Regions from separate parts of the Homo sapiens genome. Here region 2 is linked to region 1. Evidence: promoter capture Hi-C in human tissues and cell types (Jung and others, 2019). All regions are on one chromosome and are shown on one strand. Each heading gives the region's core, a stretch centred on a gene start or on the middle of the fragment in contact. The rest is flanking DNA. Distances are from core to core; before and after follow the strand shown. Region 1 holds the start of GABPA (GA binding protein transcription factor subunit alpha). Region 2 has its middle 25 kb from the start of ADAMTS1.

Region 1 (7,707 bases), core at 3,706-6,205:
CGCAGCTAGGGCCAGATACGGTGCCTCATGCCTGTAATCCTAATACTCTGGGAGATCGAGGAGAGAGGACTGTTTGAACCCATGAGTTCAAGACCAGCCTGGGCAACATAAAAAGAACCTGTCTCCTATAAAAACATTTTTAAAATTAGCCAGGCATGGTGGTGTGCAACTGTTGTCCTAGCTACTTGGGAGGCTGAAGTGAGAAGATCGCTTGAGACCAGGAGTCGAGGCTGCAGTCAATGATGATCGTGCCACTGCACTCCCTCCTGGGCAACAGCGAGACCCTATCTCTTGAAACAAATAAATAAAAGTAGAAGGTCCTTAAAAGTAGAAGAGGAAATTGGAAGAGAGAGCCAGAGTGATTCAATGTGAAGATCTGCCGGTTAGCTGTGACTGGCTTTGAAGATGGAGGAAAGGAGCTTTGAGCCAAGGAATGCAGGTAGCTTCTGAAAGCTAGACAAGGAACGGATTCTCCCTCGAAGGCTCTAGAAAAACAGCACTGGCAACACCTCATTTTAGCCCAGAGACCTACTTCATATTTCTGACTCCAAAACTGTAAGATAATAAACAGGTGGTGTTTTTAAGCCACTAAATTTGCATAATTTGTTACACTAGCATTAAGAAACTGAGTCTCCCTTCCCACTTTAGAAAGGGCTATAACTCTCCTAAGTTCTCAATATCTCCAACTATGGGGTAGCTGGTTTTCTGACAAATAGCTGGCACCCAAATCTAGACTGCCTGATACAAAATGATCTAATTTTTCCCACGTAATTAAGGTTGCTCTCAGGCTTGCCCTTTAAGGACGAACAATAAAAGGGTAAGGTTCTCCACTGGGATGGACGCATGCATATGGAGCAGACTGCGCAGGCTCCGTTCACAAGCACATCTAGCCGACTGCGCAGATTCTGTTCACGTGCATATCTAGCAGAATGCGCAGGCTCCAGCAGGCTTTTTTGGGGATGATGAAGAAATGAAGACCCTCTGTTTTTGGTTTTTTTTTTTCTTGCTGATGCTGGTCTAATAAGCCTTCCTTTTCTCCAATAAAGCCTATTCCTTAACTGGTGCTATGTGTAAAATTGTGGAATTCATCCTGAGGGCTGAAGAAAACAGGTGGAAACCGAGTAGGGATCTACCTTGAAGGACAACATAAGCTTCCAGGGCAAGAATATGTGTTCACAAATATATACAAAGTACTCTGAAGAGTACTACCTTCAGCAGGCACTCCACCAATATGTGTTGAATAAATGAATAAGAACTATTTCACACCATATAAAATGAACTACACATGCCTTAAAGGATTAAACATACAAGGCAAAACTATGAAACAGAAGAAAATGGTGGGGACATTTTTGTGGTCTCAGGATAGAAAAAGATTTCTTAAATAAAATTCCAAGAACATAACCGTAAGGAGAAAAATCTGATTACATAAAAATCAAGATTTATGTTCAACAGACAGGCTACAGAATGGAAAGATGTTTCCAATACCCAAAAGTGACGATGGAATAGACAATGGCCTGGAATTTGATAACCAAAAAAAGGGACAAATTAGAAAAGTAGTTAAAGCATAGGAAAAGGATATTCACATAACGGGAAACCAAAATAACTCAGGATACAAAGAAATGCCCAAATTCAAATCATTCAAAAGTTCAATTTAAAACAAGAAACTACCACTTTATACCATGTGTGTGTTGGGGGCAGGGGGCGGCGGCGGCGGCAAATGTCAGAAAATTAAATAACGAGAGCAGTTAGCAGGGACATAAGATTCCCCTATCTCTGGAGATGTGGTGTACACACAGGTGTAGACATTCTGGAGAAAAGTATATCAAGCATACTCATACCTATAACCCAGCAATTTCATCCCTAACTAAGCATTCCAGAAAAATTCTCAAATTGGTTAACAGGATTGATTGACAATGTTCAGGGCAGCTTTATTGGTGACAGCTGGTGCCAATCCAAGTGTCTATTTTAAGAAAGTATTAATCAAAGAAAATGTGGAGAAAGTATACACTATGGAATTTCAGTATTGGTTAAAAGGAAATAATGTCCACACAAAATAGATATATTATAAAAAACTGTTGTCTACAGAAAAAAGTGAGAATCAGGTTTATAGCAGAATAGCACTTAAAAAAAATCACTTATTTTCAGGGCTTATAAAGAGGTCCACTCCCATCTCCACAACCAATTTTTTTAAAATTAGAAAACATAAATTTTCTGGAAACTTTGGCAAGATAGAAAAAAAAGCATTATGATGTAGCCAGAGGCTGAGAAGTGGCCCTAATGGCGTATCAGCAGGGACACCTGGGGCTCCCCTAACATAAACACTAAAATAGGAAGTTGCTACAAAGAAATTTATCCTATGATCTTTCAAAAAATTTATAGACCAATCCCTAGAAAGTGCCAAATAGAGAAAAAACAAAACAAAACAAAAACCCATGCCCTTTTGGAGAAAAAAAAAATTACTCAGTTTCTTAAATGATCTGTCAAAAAATATTACTCAGTCTCTTAAATCTTTCTTTCTCTCCTGGTTCTCTATGCTTAGTCCAGAGAAGCAAAACAGAGATTTGAGAAATAGTCCAAATCTTTCATATCAGTTTTTGAGTGAGTCTTATCTCTTTTTCTGAAACCAATTCCTCAGGCTTCTATGTCAATACTTAGGAAAACTGAGAGAAAATTACTTGCAGTTTCTCCGTCTAAGGGCTGCCCCCGCCAGAACTGCACAGAACAATTTCATATACTTTGACACTCTGGTTCTGCTGGATTAAATCCAACCTGGGGTTCGGAATGTTTCACAAGATGGGATACAAACTAAACTTGAATTTAACGAAAAATTCTGGGAACGGCTAGTGTCTTTTAAAATACAGATAGGTGTAACATTCCCTTTTGAAACTACAGATAAATTTGAGAATTGTCCTTCATTGGAGAGCATTATTACAGAGCTTAGAACATTTTGTTCCCAATATATTATAAGTGGAGTGTGGGGGTACCTGCGAGATTAACTGCACATTTTCCTAAGTTATCAAATGCTTTTCTGTGTCTGAGGAAATTAAAAGACATTTTTATTTTCAAAAATAAAGGTAGCAGTTAAGAAAAAGCAAAGCATACATATCTATGTAATATAAAAAGAGAAAGCACATACAGTGAAAGATTAACAGTTGGGACCCTCAGGTGAAGGGTATCTGCGTGTTCACTGCATGATTTTTTCCCCAATTCTTCTGTAGGTTTGGAGTTTTATATATAAAGAGTTGAGGGAAGGCTAAAGTCAACAGTTTTAATTTAGTACTCGGTCTGATGATTTGCTTCAACCTAACATCTAGCTCATGATTTAATTACTTCATTACTATACATGCCTCATGACAGATGCTCTTGTATACACAATTCAGGTAAAATTGACTTGAAGTCCACTCAGCGTCACTGTATGTCTAAAAATAAAGAAGCTTGGAAAGCCTGGATGGAACCCTGAGAGACAGGCTAGTCCCTCAAGCAGTTGCTAAAGAGTTGAGCGGTTTCTTCTGAAGTTCAAGATAACACTACCGAAGAATGTTATCACCGCCTCGTTCTACAATTCGCTCAAGTGAATCCTGCTAAATCTTTGCTCTTCTCACGAGTCAGACCTACTGCTATTAGTGGAAACTACTTATGAAATGAATTTTATTTCTAAATTTCTAATCATCTTGCAATGCAATATTAGGCATTGTCCTCTCGGTCCGCTAACCTGATCAAACTGGGGTCCCTAAATCCAAACACGCACATACAGCGTGTCTTCTAGTACACAAAAAAATTTCCAAGTAGACAACCCATTGTTATCTCCTTGGTTTACTTCCTTGCTTAAAAACAAAAAAACAAACCCAGATGGCTACCATATACGCTGATAAATGATTCTGGTGTGTGTTGTTCTATAAAGAGAGCGGATTTGAAATGAGTGAATCGCTGAGTCCCGCGATGAGACAGGGTCTGCATTTTGCTCTTAAAATCTCGGGGGCGTCAGGACCACATCCCAGCTGAGCAGGCTGAGACTGCTGAGGAGTGCGGACGGGCGAGGAGGGGACGCGGAAAGGAGGGAGCGGCGACAGGCGACCCGTCCGGCACGGGTCCCGGCGGTGCCCGGTCCCCCCGGGCTCCAGGCCGCTCGCCCCCCGCCCCTCCCCTTCGCTCCCCGCACAGCTCTCCCGCCCCTCCCCACCCGGCTCCCTCAAGTCTCCACGAACGGAAATGGGAGTCACAGCGCCGGGGACCAGCGGAAACAAAACACAGAGGCGGCCGCGGGGGGGCCCTTGTGGGGGAAAAGGCCCCGGAACGAGGCCGGCCCGCGAGGGCCCGCGCTCCCCTCCTCCCCGGCGGCCGCACTCACCCACTCCGGAATCGGCCCTGTCGCCCCCGCCCGCACTCCAGAGCCGGCTGAGAACGGCAGCGGCGAGGGCTCCACGTGCAGCGTCTCTCCGGGTAAGACCTGCAGCTCCCGCGACTAGAAGTGTGAGGTCCCAGGGCCCTTCCCGCGGAATCGGCGCTGAGAAGCCCCAACCCCCCTCCCGCCTCCCAGGCACCTTCGGGTCCAGGACTACAACTCCCGGCAGGGTGCGCAAAACGACCGCCCAAGGCAACGGAGGCTCACGAGGTACAAGGAAGCACAACGCCCCAATCCGCTTTGTTTTACACAGTCTCACTTTCCCTGCACCTTTATACACTTCGATAACCCTAACGAACAGGACGCTGACTCGGAGGGGAGCTTGAACTAGGGGAAAGGCCACTCAAAGAGCGCATGCGTACAGAGCAAGGTTTCAAGGAGGGGAAAAAGAACGGGTCAAATTAGGCGAAGAAAAGATGGCGGAGGCTGTGCCAGGGGACCCGGAAGCACTTACCCTCCACTTCCTCCTCCTGTTTGGCTTCTGTCTCACCTAGACCCGTCCGGTCGCAGACTGTCTCCGAGACGCTTCCTGTCCGGTGAGCGTCGACCGACTGAAACGGCGGCCCATAATGCATTGCGATGGCGGGTAGGCGTGTGGGGGCGGAGCCAGGGCCGGAAGTAGAGCGGAGGTGGTGGCGGCGGAGGCTTTGGCAGCTCGGGACTGAGTGCAAGGTGACTGGGAGGGTAGCTAGATCAGCGTGGCCTTTTGGGACTCCAGTTCTGGGTTTTTTCACGAGGCCTGGGCTGCCTCTCACCTTTACTAGGAGGAGAGAGCAGCTCTGTGTCCTGGGGACCTTCACGGCCTGGCCCGGGGTCACAGCTGACCTCTACGTTTGTAGACCTTGGAGTTTGCCGTAGACCCAGAAATAAGATCGATACCCTCTCTGAGGGCAAATCGGGGCGGCGCGGGGGGCAGGGAGGCCCGGGGGTCTCGGGCCCGCAGCCTGGCTGGGGCAACCCAAGGTCAGGCGCGCGGGAGAGATTTTCGGCCAGGCCTACCCGCCCCGGGCGCACGGGAGCGTCTAGGCTACTTAGGCAGAACGTGTACCATTAAGAGGGAAAAAATTAGTCATAATATTGAAAGTTTGCATCCCACCTAAAAACGATGGTGCTAACACTTCATTAGGCGACTTTATGGATTGTTCATAGGAATATGCACTGAAGAGGCAGCGAACCTACTAACCTTTGGCCGGTCAGTCATCACTATAAATAGAACCATGCTCCCACCCAGAACAAGGCCTCTGCTCAGACTAGTGTTTTCTTACTGTTGCCTTCCCCAGTCTTTCTGATCATGTCAGACGCTATCATATGCTCTCGTGGCACCCGATGGTACTGGAATAGAGAATTTATGTCAGGTGGTATTTCACAGCTATTTGTGTAATGACTATCTTCTGCGTTTTAGTGGACAATATGCATTCACTAATCAGTGAAAAAAAATGAAAGGGATTAAAGGAGAAGGAACAAGTTTTGATATGGGATTATGTGTTCGTTTTTTGGATGAGTTCGTAGGACTTATAAGGGAGATGAGAACTGTTGAATGCTGTGGATAGATTTGGGGCTCAGGATGAATACTAAAATTAGAAATGCGATTGGGGAATCATAGGCACTTACATGGTGGATAATTGAAACAATGAAAGTGGATTTTACCCGTGTTGCAGAAGGAGTAACATCTATGCAGTCAGACTTAGAGCAAATTAACTGTGAGAATACGTGCAGCTTAATCTTTCTTAGATACAGTTTTATCATCTGTAAAGCAGGGATAAGAACACTTTAACTCTTTGAGAGTATTGCTGTAAGGGTACAAGGAAAGGATATATATGGAAGTACTTTGCACAGTATCTAGGGCTAAGCAAATGTCGGGTGAACCTATTGCTGAATGTTAAGCATGTCCTTAGTTTGCCAGAAGGGAAAGTGGCATTGAATTGCACAATTTTTTTTTTTGCATATATGTGTTAAGTTAGATTTTGCTGTGTAACTTTGACCAGATACTTTTTTTTTGAGACAGAGTCTCGCTCTGTCGCCCAGGCTGGATTGCAGTGGCACGATCTCTGCTCACTCCAAGCTCCACTTTCCAGGTTTACGCCCTTCTGCCTCAGCCTCCGGAGTAGCTGGGACTACAGGTGCCCGCCACCACGCCTGGCTAATTTTTTGTATTTTTCAGTAGAGACCGGGTTTCACCGTGTTAGCCAGGATGGTCTCGATCTCCTGACCTCGTGATCTGCCCGCCTCGGCCTCCCAAAGTGCTGGGATTACAAGCGTGAGCCACCGCGCCCGACCACTTTGACCAGATACTTCTAATCCTCAGTTTCTGTGTGTTTAAACATAGGAATGATAATAAGTGGCACATGACCTTGTGAGGTCATTTGTTGTTTGCTTGTAGCCTTTTCTCAAGTATTTTTCCCTGATGGGGTATAAAAGTGATATGTTATGAATTCTTTAATTTCTTCAAACAGTTTGCTTTCATTCTGTCAGGTGAAGCATATTTTGTTGATTGCATTGATAGTAGGATTTCTTTTTTTTTTTTTTTTTTTTTTTTTTTGAGACAGAGTTTCACTCTTGTTGCCCAGGGTGGAGGAGTGCAGTGGCGCGATCTCGGCTCACCGCAACCTCCGCCTCCTGGGTTCAAGGAATCTCCTGCCTCAGCCTCCTGAGTAGCTGGGATTACAGGCATGTGCCACCACTCCCGGCTAATTTTGTATTTTTGGTAGAGACGGGGTTTCTCCATGTTGGTCAGGCTGATCTTGAATCCCTACCTCAGGTGATCCACCCACCTTGGCCTCCCAAAGTGCTGGGATTACAACAAAGTGCTGGGATTACAGGCGTGAGCCATCACGCCCGGCCTGATTGTAGGATTTCTTTCTTTCTTTTTTTTTTTTTTTGAGACAGGGTTTCACTCTGTAACACAGGCTGGAATGCAGTGGTGCAATCACAGCTCACTGCAGCTTCTACCTCCCAAGCTCAAGTGATCCTCCAGCCTCAGCCTCCCAAGTACCTGGGACTACAGGCACCCACCACCGCACTTGGCTATTTTTTTTTTTTCTGTAGAGATGGGGTCATACTGTGTTGCCCAGGCTGGTCTTGAATTCCTGGGCTTAAGTGATCCTCCTGCCTTGTTCTTCCAAAGTGCTGGGATTACAGGCATGATCCGCTGCACCTGGCTCATTGTAGATTTCTTTTGATAATTTTTACATGCCATTCCAGAGTTTGTCAACCTTGGCATTATTGACATTTTGACCAGATAATTCTTAGGGGTGGGAGGGCTGTTATTGTCGTTATAGTGTTTGGCAGCATTCCTGGCTTTGTAC
Region 2 (7,707 bases), core at 2,519-5,018, 1.1 Mb before region 1:
AGTTTTTCCCTTAGCAGTAGAAGAAAAGAATATCCAATAAGTACTGACATCATATAACATATTAAAATGGTACACTGGCCTATTGATGCAGTGGTGTTTATTACCTTGAACAAAAACACATCCATGGAAAGATCCTATCCTCTCATAACTAGGGTAGATATTTCTAAATTGTATCTTGTTTCAAAAACTAAAGCTAGATACTGAAGTAACATAATACAAAGTCTAGAATTTTCTTTAAAAATTTCAAGCAAAAATAGAAAATGTGAAGATAGATGAAACTAGATGAACAAAATGATAATAATTGTTAAAGCTGAGTGATAGAGATGCATACTTCGTTCTCTACTTTTGTATAATTAGACTTTTTTCTACAATAAAAGGTTAAAAATAAACTGAGAAGTTATGTTTCTTTTGTCTAATTTACAAATCAATATCGGTATTTGAAGCAATTTAAAATATGACATATATTAGTGTTCTTTTCTACTCTTGCTTTTTTGAGGAGTATAAATGTATTTAAAGTACTCACACTTAAAAATACAGAAACACTCTCTAAACAGGGTTCAGTACAGAGTGCAGGAGGAAATCATTATGTGGTAATTAAAGTAAGAATCAGGAAGGAAAGAAGGAAGGAAGGAAGAAATATTTATGCTCCGCAGCAATGTAAAATATAGGGCAATTAAGTGGATTCTCTATTGTAATAGGTTGTGAATTTATCACTTTTCCTACAGAGGCAAGATTTAAACATTATCATAGGATACAAAAAAATTCAATATTTTATATTAAAGTCTCCTAGAACTCCAATTTTCTACCAACAGGAAGAAAATTACGTAGAGAATGAAAACGAAAAACCACTTTTTGCTTGCAGGTACTCAGGATTTAATCTTAAGGACAAAAGATAAATGTATTATGACTACCTGAAGCACATATCAAGGGAATTTTTTTTGAGGAAAGAAATGCTGAGTGAAGAGAAGGGAATTAATATGAAGACCATCAGAGAGATTCTTGGCTCTCAAACTTGAAGGAAGTAGAGTCCATTGATAAAGCAGGAAGAGGTCATATTTGGTATATTAGTTCATTCTCATGCTGCTATGAAAAAAATACCCAAGACTGGGTAATTTATAAAGAAGAGAGGTTTAATTGACTCACAGTTCTGCATGGCTGGGGAGGCCTCAAGAAACTTATAATCATGGTGGAAGGCACCTCTTCACAGAGCGGCAGGAGAAAGAATGAGTGCCAGCAGGGAAATGCCAGACACTTATAAAACCATCAGATCTCATGAGAACTCACTCACTATCATGAGAACAGCATGGAGGAAACCTCCTCTATGATCCAATCACTTCCCACTAGGGCCCTCCCACAACACATGGCGATTATCTTGAATTGTAGTAATTCAAGATGAGATTTGGGTGGGGACACAGGCAGACCATATCATTTGGCAACCTTGAATTTGTAGATGAGGGAGCTCAGCTGAAAGATTAAGTAAATAGTTAAATCTCCAAGATATTTGGTTTCCATCTGAAGCTCTTCACCATATGTATCAGATCAGTTATGTGCACAGTTTCATTTTTTTCTTTAAAGTGGGCTAAGAATTTATCAGACCCCTGCTGTATCTTTCATAAAAGCAGAGAAATGCACCAAATAAAGAACACAAATACTGACCGACTTCTGGCGGTGCTGGCATTACAATATTGCTCTGGCTTTTCATTAATTTCAAGTTGGTTTATTCAGTTCTGCATGTTCCAGAGCCTTTCACCTTCAGTGTTTTCACCAAACTTATTAACAGGAGTAGAATCAACAGGTTTGGCTATATCTCTTCTCTTCCCAGAGTATGCCAGAGGTAATAATAAAAACTAACTTCATTTCAAAGGATACTTCAGGGGAAAGAAAAGAAAAGCAGGGGTGTACATCATCTTTTGGTTTGATAAACTAATTCCAAATAAATGGAAGTTGGCTGGAGACCTTCATTTGAAACAATAAGGATACATATTCTCAAAGGCTAGCCCAAGCCTATGGACAGGATCCTTTGCTATTAAAGACCCACAGAGATGATGATATCTAGTTATCAAACTGCAGCATACTCTGGAATATGCTCTATAATACAAGGTCAATTTCTTTTAGAAGTTAGATATTAGTTAAACCTTGTGGTTTTCTAATTAAAATGTCCTGATGACTTCCTTTGACAGTAGTGATAACAGAATATTCTCATATAGACCTTCAGCATAACTTTTAAATTTGGCCTTCAAATGTAATATACAACAGTACAAGATTGCTAAAAAAAATGCAGAATATCCTGTTTATCTTTGCTCTCTAGTCTCCTTTTTCTTTTCTTAAAACAAAGGACTTGGGTTATCTACCTAAGGTCATCATAGCACTGTATTTTTTTTTCTTTAACATCCATATGCATGTGAGCCATTTAAAAGATTAAAATGTAAACAAAACTAAATACTTAGAAAAGCTTTTGATCCTCTGCATTTGTAAACATTTCTAAGAAACCTCACTTGGGACTCTCCTAGATATTGCAGGCATGGTTGAAGCAGTAAAATTCAGTTCTTAGCATGACTGGGAGAAAGGAAAGAGCATCATTTTACAAGTGAAAAAGAAGGCATTATTAACAGTCCAAAATTAGAGAACTGAACACTTTTCTGAGCAATTTTCCTATCCACAAACTGTGGGACCATATAATTAGTTATTTTATCAGACTTGACTTTATCAATAGCCACACACAAAAAGGTACAATTTAAAATGTGAATAAATGTGAATGTTTGTTGATTATAGAGCATCAATAAAAGTAAAGTTGCTTTAGATTGCTGGATATTATACTTATTTATATTTTGAACCCCCAAAATATAAGAATGAATACTGGTAAAACAAATGCTTACTTTTAAGCAATATTTTGACAAAGACTTCTGAAGAATCAAATTGTAGACCCCAAAGGTTTTATGTAGCAAGAGGAGTCAATTATACTTTAATAGCATATCTTTAAGAAAAACATCCCTTGCAAAGAAGATAGAATCAGTTTTAGTAGTATACTTGCCCTTTATCACTTTGAACAAATAAAAAAAGATGTTTAACTAAGGCTGCCTTTTTTTGAAATATAACCCTTCAAGTAGTATATGTCAAGAAAAAAAGAAAGGAAGAAACAAAGGAAGGAAAACAACTTAACATTTTCTCAAGAAAATTATAATAAGAAAGATAAATATGCAGAGTGGGCAATTAGATTATTCATTCCATTGATATAACAAGAATGAGTAAGAATCAGTAAATATCGCTGGGCTACTAGTTTGTATAGGGAACTGTCCTAGGGCCTGAATAAGAGCCCACAAGAAAAAAAAAGGAGAGAAAATAAAGGAGAGAAAGGAAGGATGCAGAAAGGAAGGAAGAGAGAAAGGAAAGAGGATGGAAAGAAAGGAAGATAAAATGGGTAGAAAAAAAAATCATTCTTGCCTTTAGTCTTATAGTATAGCTGGAGAAATAAAATGTATACAAAAGAAAAAATAACAATACAAGAAAGTGAGTCCAGTGAATTGCATCAATAACATGAGCTCAGGAATACAGAAGCAAGGGATCACTTCAGGTCAAGGGGTCAAGGAAGGAGTAGAGACATAACATGATACTTTGAGTTGAAAGGAATGAAAACAGGCGGGAGATGTGTTCCAGATATTGGAGAAGAAATAACAGAGACAAAAATGTCTGATCCATGTGATCCGTTCTTGCTCAGCCACTCATACAGATGAGTGGCGTGTGTAGGTAATACCACCAGGTATGCTGGGTGGACAGGAAACCCTTCCGGCATGGAGCAAAAAATAAAGACACAGATGGATGCCTTCTGTTTTGCTAGCTTCATCCCTGTTCACTCAATGAGATAGGTCAACTTAATTTTCCAAAAGATTGTCTACAGAAATTATTGACTATTTGGATTTATGAATTTTTAAAAATTAAATCCAAGTTACAGAGGCAAGTGATGATAAACTTGTCCAGATTTGAATATCTAAATTGACCACACCCTCACCCCAAGTCAAATCACTTTGGACTACAAGTCATGAACCCAGAGCAGGCAATTGCTCCAGAGGCTCTGAAGCTCCTCCTTGGAACTGTCCTCAGAGCCAATTTAGAGAAACAATCTGCCCCATTGCCGCCCAGGCATGTTTCACTTTTTTGACCAAAAATGGCATCACCCAGATTAGAGACCCACCTTAGTCATGGTATTTGGCTGCAAGGGACTTTGGTTGCATCCAAAACAAAATCCTCCTTCAAAAAGAGATTTGCCACCACAGGAGATAGTCAAAGAATGAGCTGCAGGCTCTGACGTTAATTCCAAGGTATCCATTTCAGAAATATTTAAGGTATGACAGCATTCTTAGGAAAGTTGTATGTACTTCCCAAATGACAACCTTAAAAGGGACAGAGTGCTTTTGCATTTGGGTTTTGGTTTCTCTCTTGAAAAAGATTCAGTCATATTGAGATGTTGTTGACATAGCAACTGAACATGCAAAATTTGAATCAGGCTGCTTGGATTCGAATCCTAGCTCCTCCATTTACTTGCCTTACTCTTAATTTGCCTTACCTTGATTTTCCATCTATAAAATGGGAATGATGAAAATAGTAATGTACTTCATTCAGTTGGTATAATTATCCCACTCATAATACCTGCAAAGTGTTTAAACTAGTACCTGACACATAGTAAGCACTCCTAATCCTAATATGGTAGTAGATATTAATGTAACAGTTTAGATTGGGGCAGTTTTTCTAAGGACAAATTCATATGAAGACAGCAAAGTACTTAATGGTGTACATACTGTATTCTGTTGGCAAATAACTTTGACATCAGCCCTGTTATTTGTTATGTAAGACTGTCTCTGCCATGTTTGATTGTACTTTTCTTCAAAGAACCATCTGCATTTCTGGACAACACTCTCCATACGGACTGGTGTATTTCAACTTGAAATCAAAATTTGCCATAAGATGCATTTTTGGTTCTACCAAATGAATATAACTATACAGGCAGAGAGAGTGCAGAGAAAATGCATAATATACATGCATATCACTATATCTGTGCTAGGAGGACACGGGTGTAACTTATAATAATTATAGTTTATGATAACTATCGTATGTCTGATTAAAACCACAAAGAGCCCAGAGTCCCTTAAATCTATGCATAAAGTCATACTTCTCCCCTCCCCAACTAGTGCTCCTTAAGCTCTTCATAGTAAACCCACAATCTCCTCAAAATCTTAGTTCATAATGAGACAATGGGTCTTTGTTTAGTTTGCTTTGTCTGCCATTTCAGTTTCCCAGCATGAAGCCCTTGCTATGCTTTCATGGCTACACTTTAGCACATTAAAAATGAATGGGCAAACATTTCTTCAATCCTTTCTGCTTACAGTCTTTTAAGTTTGAAGTCCGGGATCTTTTATAAACTAAGTATATGACCTTGAGCAAGTCATTTAATATTTCTAGGTCTGTTATTTCTTCAACAAGGTAAGATAATTGAGTTATTTTAATTTTACGGTCGAAGATCCTTTTCCTTTTCTCATATCTCTTCTCACTGGATAATACCTTGGAAAGCCAAAAGCCATGTGTAATTCATTATATCCTGGTATTGGACTTTAAGTCACAGAGATGTGCACGAAGGCAGATATCACACCGTGATAGCCAAGGCAATTTCCTTTAAAACATTATTTTTTTTTCAATTTAAACCCATTATACTGTCATTTTAATTGTTTACTAAAAAAAGAAATATATTTGGTTTAAATTGCCTTTATTTAGCACAGAATCACTTGAAGGCTTTCACTTTGAACTCTATCATTTTCATGTGCTAAGGCCTCCAGGAGACACACATTCCCTGTAAAAGTGTTCACCCGGATTTTATACTCTTGTGCTGTGTCTCTGTAAGTGGGTTTTATGTTTCTTAATAATAACGCCACATCTTTTTCTTTTATAGCTCTCCCTCCTGTCGAGTTCCTAGAATTGTAGTCTAGACATAGTAGAAACTCAATAAAAGTTTTACTCATTGACAAACATCTGGGCTTTCTGCAAAGAACAACCATGGCTTAAACATTTACTAGTTACCATGGCTCAAGTAGCTGTAGAGGGGAATTTATGCCCTTGCTGCTACTGAGGTTGACATGTCTGTACTTACAAATTTCTCTGGGAACTGGTAAATTACCTTTTTGCATTTCTGATTCATCTTTTATAAAAATGAGGAGCTACCTTAAAAGATTACTCTAAACTGAGTGAGATATTATATATAAAACTTCCGGCACACGGGGTAAATAAACATATTACTGAGATATTAATACCTGGAGCACATGGCTGACTATAGTCATTTTCTAGCTGATTCAATGCTCTCAACCCTGCCCTGATTTAGGGACACACAACTCAGTTACCTTAGAAGGTATTTTGGTAAAAAGAATGGATCTGAGTTCAACTGGCCTTCAGAAGCTTCTAGAAGCTGACAAGTTTATCAGCCCCAACAAAAGCTTAGGCAAGCTAGGGTGAATTATGGCCTGGACAGTATTCCAAAAGTAACAAGCAACAAGTAATGTGAGTGGTGCATTCCATCATAAAGTAAAAAAACCTGTTTTCCTAAAGTACTGAATTAAGAGGAAAAAATAGATAAATATATATTTTACATGTAAAATAGTATATATAATAGACATAAATATCTATTTTATATAAATATATAACTATTTACAATGTATATATTTTCTCTATTTTATATACAATACATATAATATGTATTACATAATATATACAATAATATACAGTATTTTATATATAATTATATATACTTATACACACTTATATATAAGTATATGATATATCATTTATAATATATAACAATATATTTATATATACATATATGTTATTTATAATATACTATATAAAAATATATTTATATATATTACTATATATTAAAAATATTTATATATTATAGCGAGTATATATAGTAATACACAATAGAATAAATTTTTATATAATTTAATTTTAACATAATTATATAATATAGAATATATTACATAATTATATATTATAAAACAAAATTACATAATTTTGTATTACTATATTATTATAACATAATTATATTAATTATATAACGTATTAAATTTTATAATTATTTAGTATATAATTATATTTTTATTATAACATTAAATAATAAAATTATTAAAATATAATTTTATTATATATTTTCTATTTTATGTTAAAAATAGAAACTATATAAAAATATATATATTCATATATATATTTCTATTAAATGTAACTAATTCCTAACTTCATGAAAATGTTTTTGGATGAATTTTATTTTTATTATAATTAATGAGAGTTTTTTGATGGGGTGATGGCTCTCCTAGATGACCAAGGTTCTAAACACTACTTATACTGTCTAAGTTCTTGAAGCAAAAATTTCATGTTCTCCATTTCCTTGGTTCACATTTCAGAATAAATTAGAAAATAAGTAGCATACACTTTTGATTAATAAGTTTAATGATGGAAAGTCAGAGCTTCTAAAAATAACAATTATGACCATATAATTTTTATTATGTTATTTTATTACACATATATAAAATTATGGTCATAATAAAGAGCAAGCTTATAGGTGGTTTAAAAAAAGTTCACAAGAAATGACCCCAAATAAATTTCCCATTTTTTTTAATATAAAGAAACATGGTTATTTATATTTGCTTGTGTGTATAAAAAGTATTGGGAGTT

The links. Contacts are between HindIII fragments. The study calls those that stand out against the background at their distance.
Region 2: a fragment that was not itself captured here is called in contact with the fragment with the promoter of GABPA in region 1 in 1 of the 25 tissues and cell types used here (stomach).

The regions. Positions count from the first base shown.
Region 1 is chr21:25,732,220-25,739,926 of GRCh38, reverse strand. GABPA (GA binding protein transcription factor subunit alpha) reads right to left here and starts at 4,955. Exons shown (of 10, transcript NM_002040.4): 1 at 4,349-4,955. ATP5PF (ATP synthase peripheral stalk subunit F6) reads left to right here and starts at 5,023. Exons shown (of 4, transcript NM_001003703.2): 1 at 5,023-5,074. RefSeq lists silencers at 3,962-4,171, 4,232-4,371, 5,312-5,411 and enhancers at 4,872-4,991, 5,012-5,121, 4,548-5,203, 5,522-5,601, 6,894-7,707. The HindIII fragment of the contact is 8,192 bases long and covers 2,294-7,707 here.
Region 2 is chr21:26,816,668-26,824,374 of GRCh38, reverse strand. No RefSeq gene overlaps it. Among named protein-coding and RNA genes, the nearest start is that of ADAMTS1, 25 kb to the left of the region's middle. RefSeq lists an enhancer at 4,988-5,609. The HindIII fragment of the contact is 6,528 bases long and covers 505-7,032 here.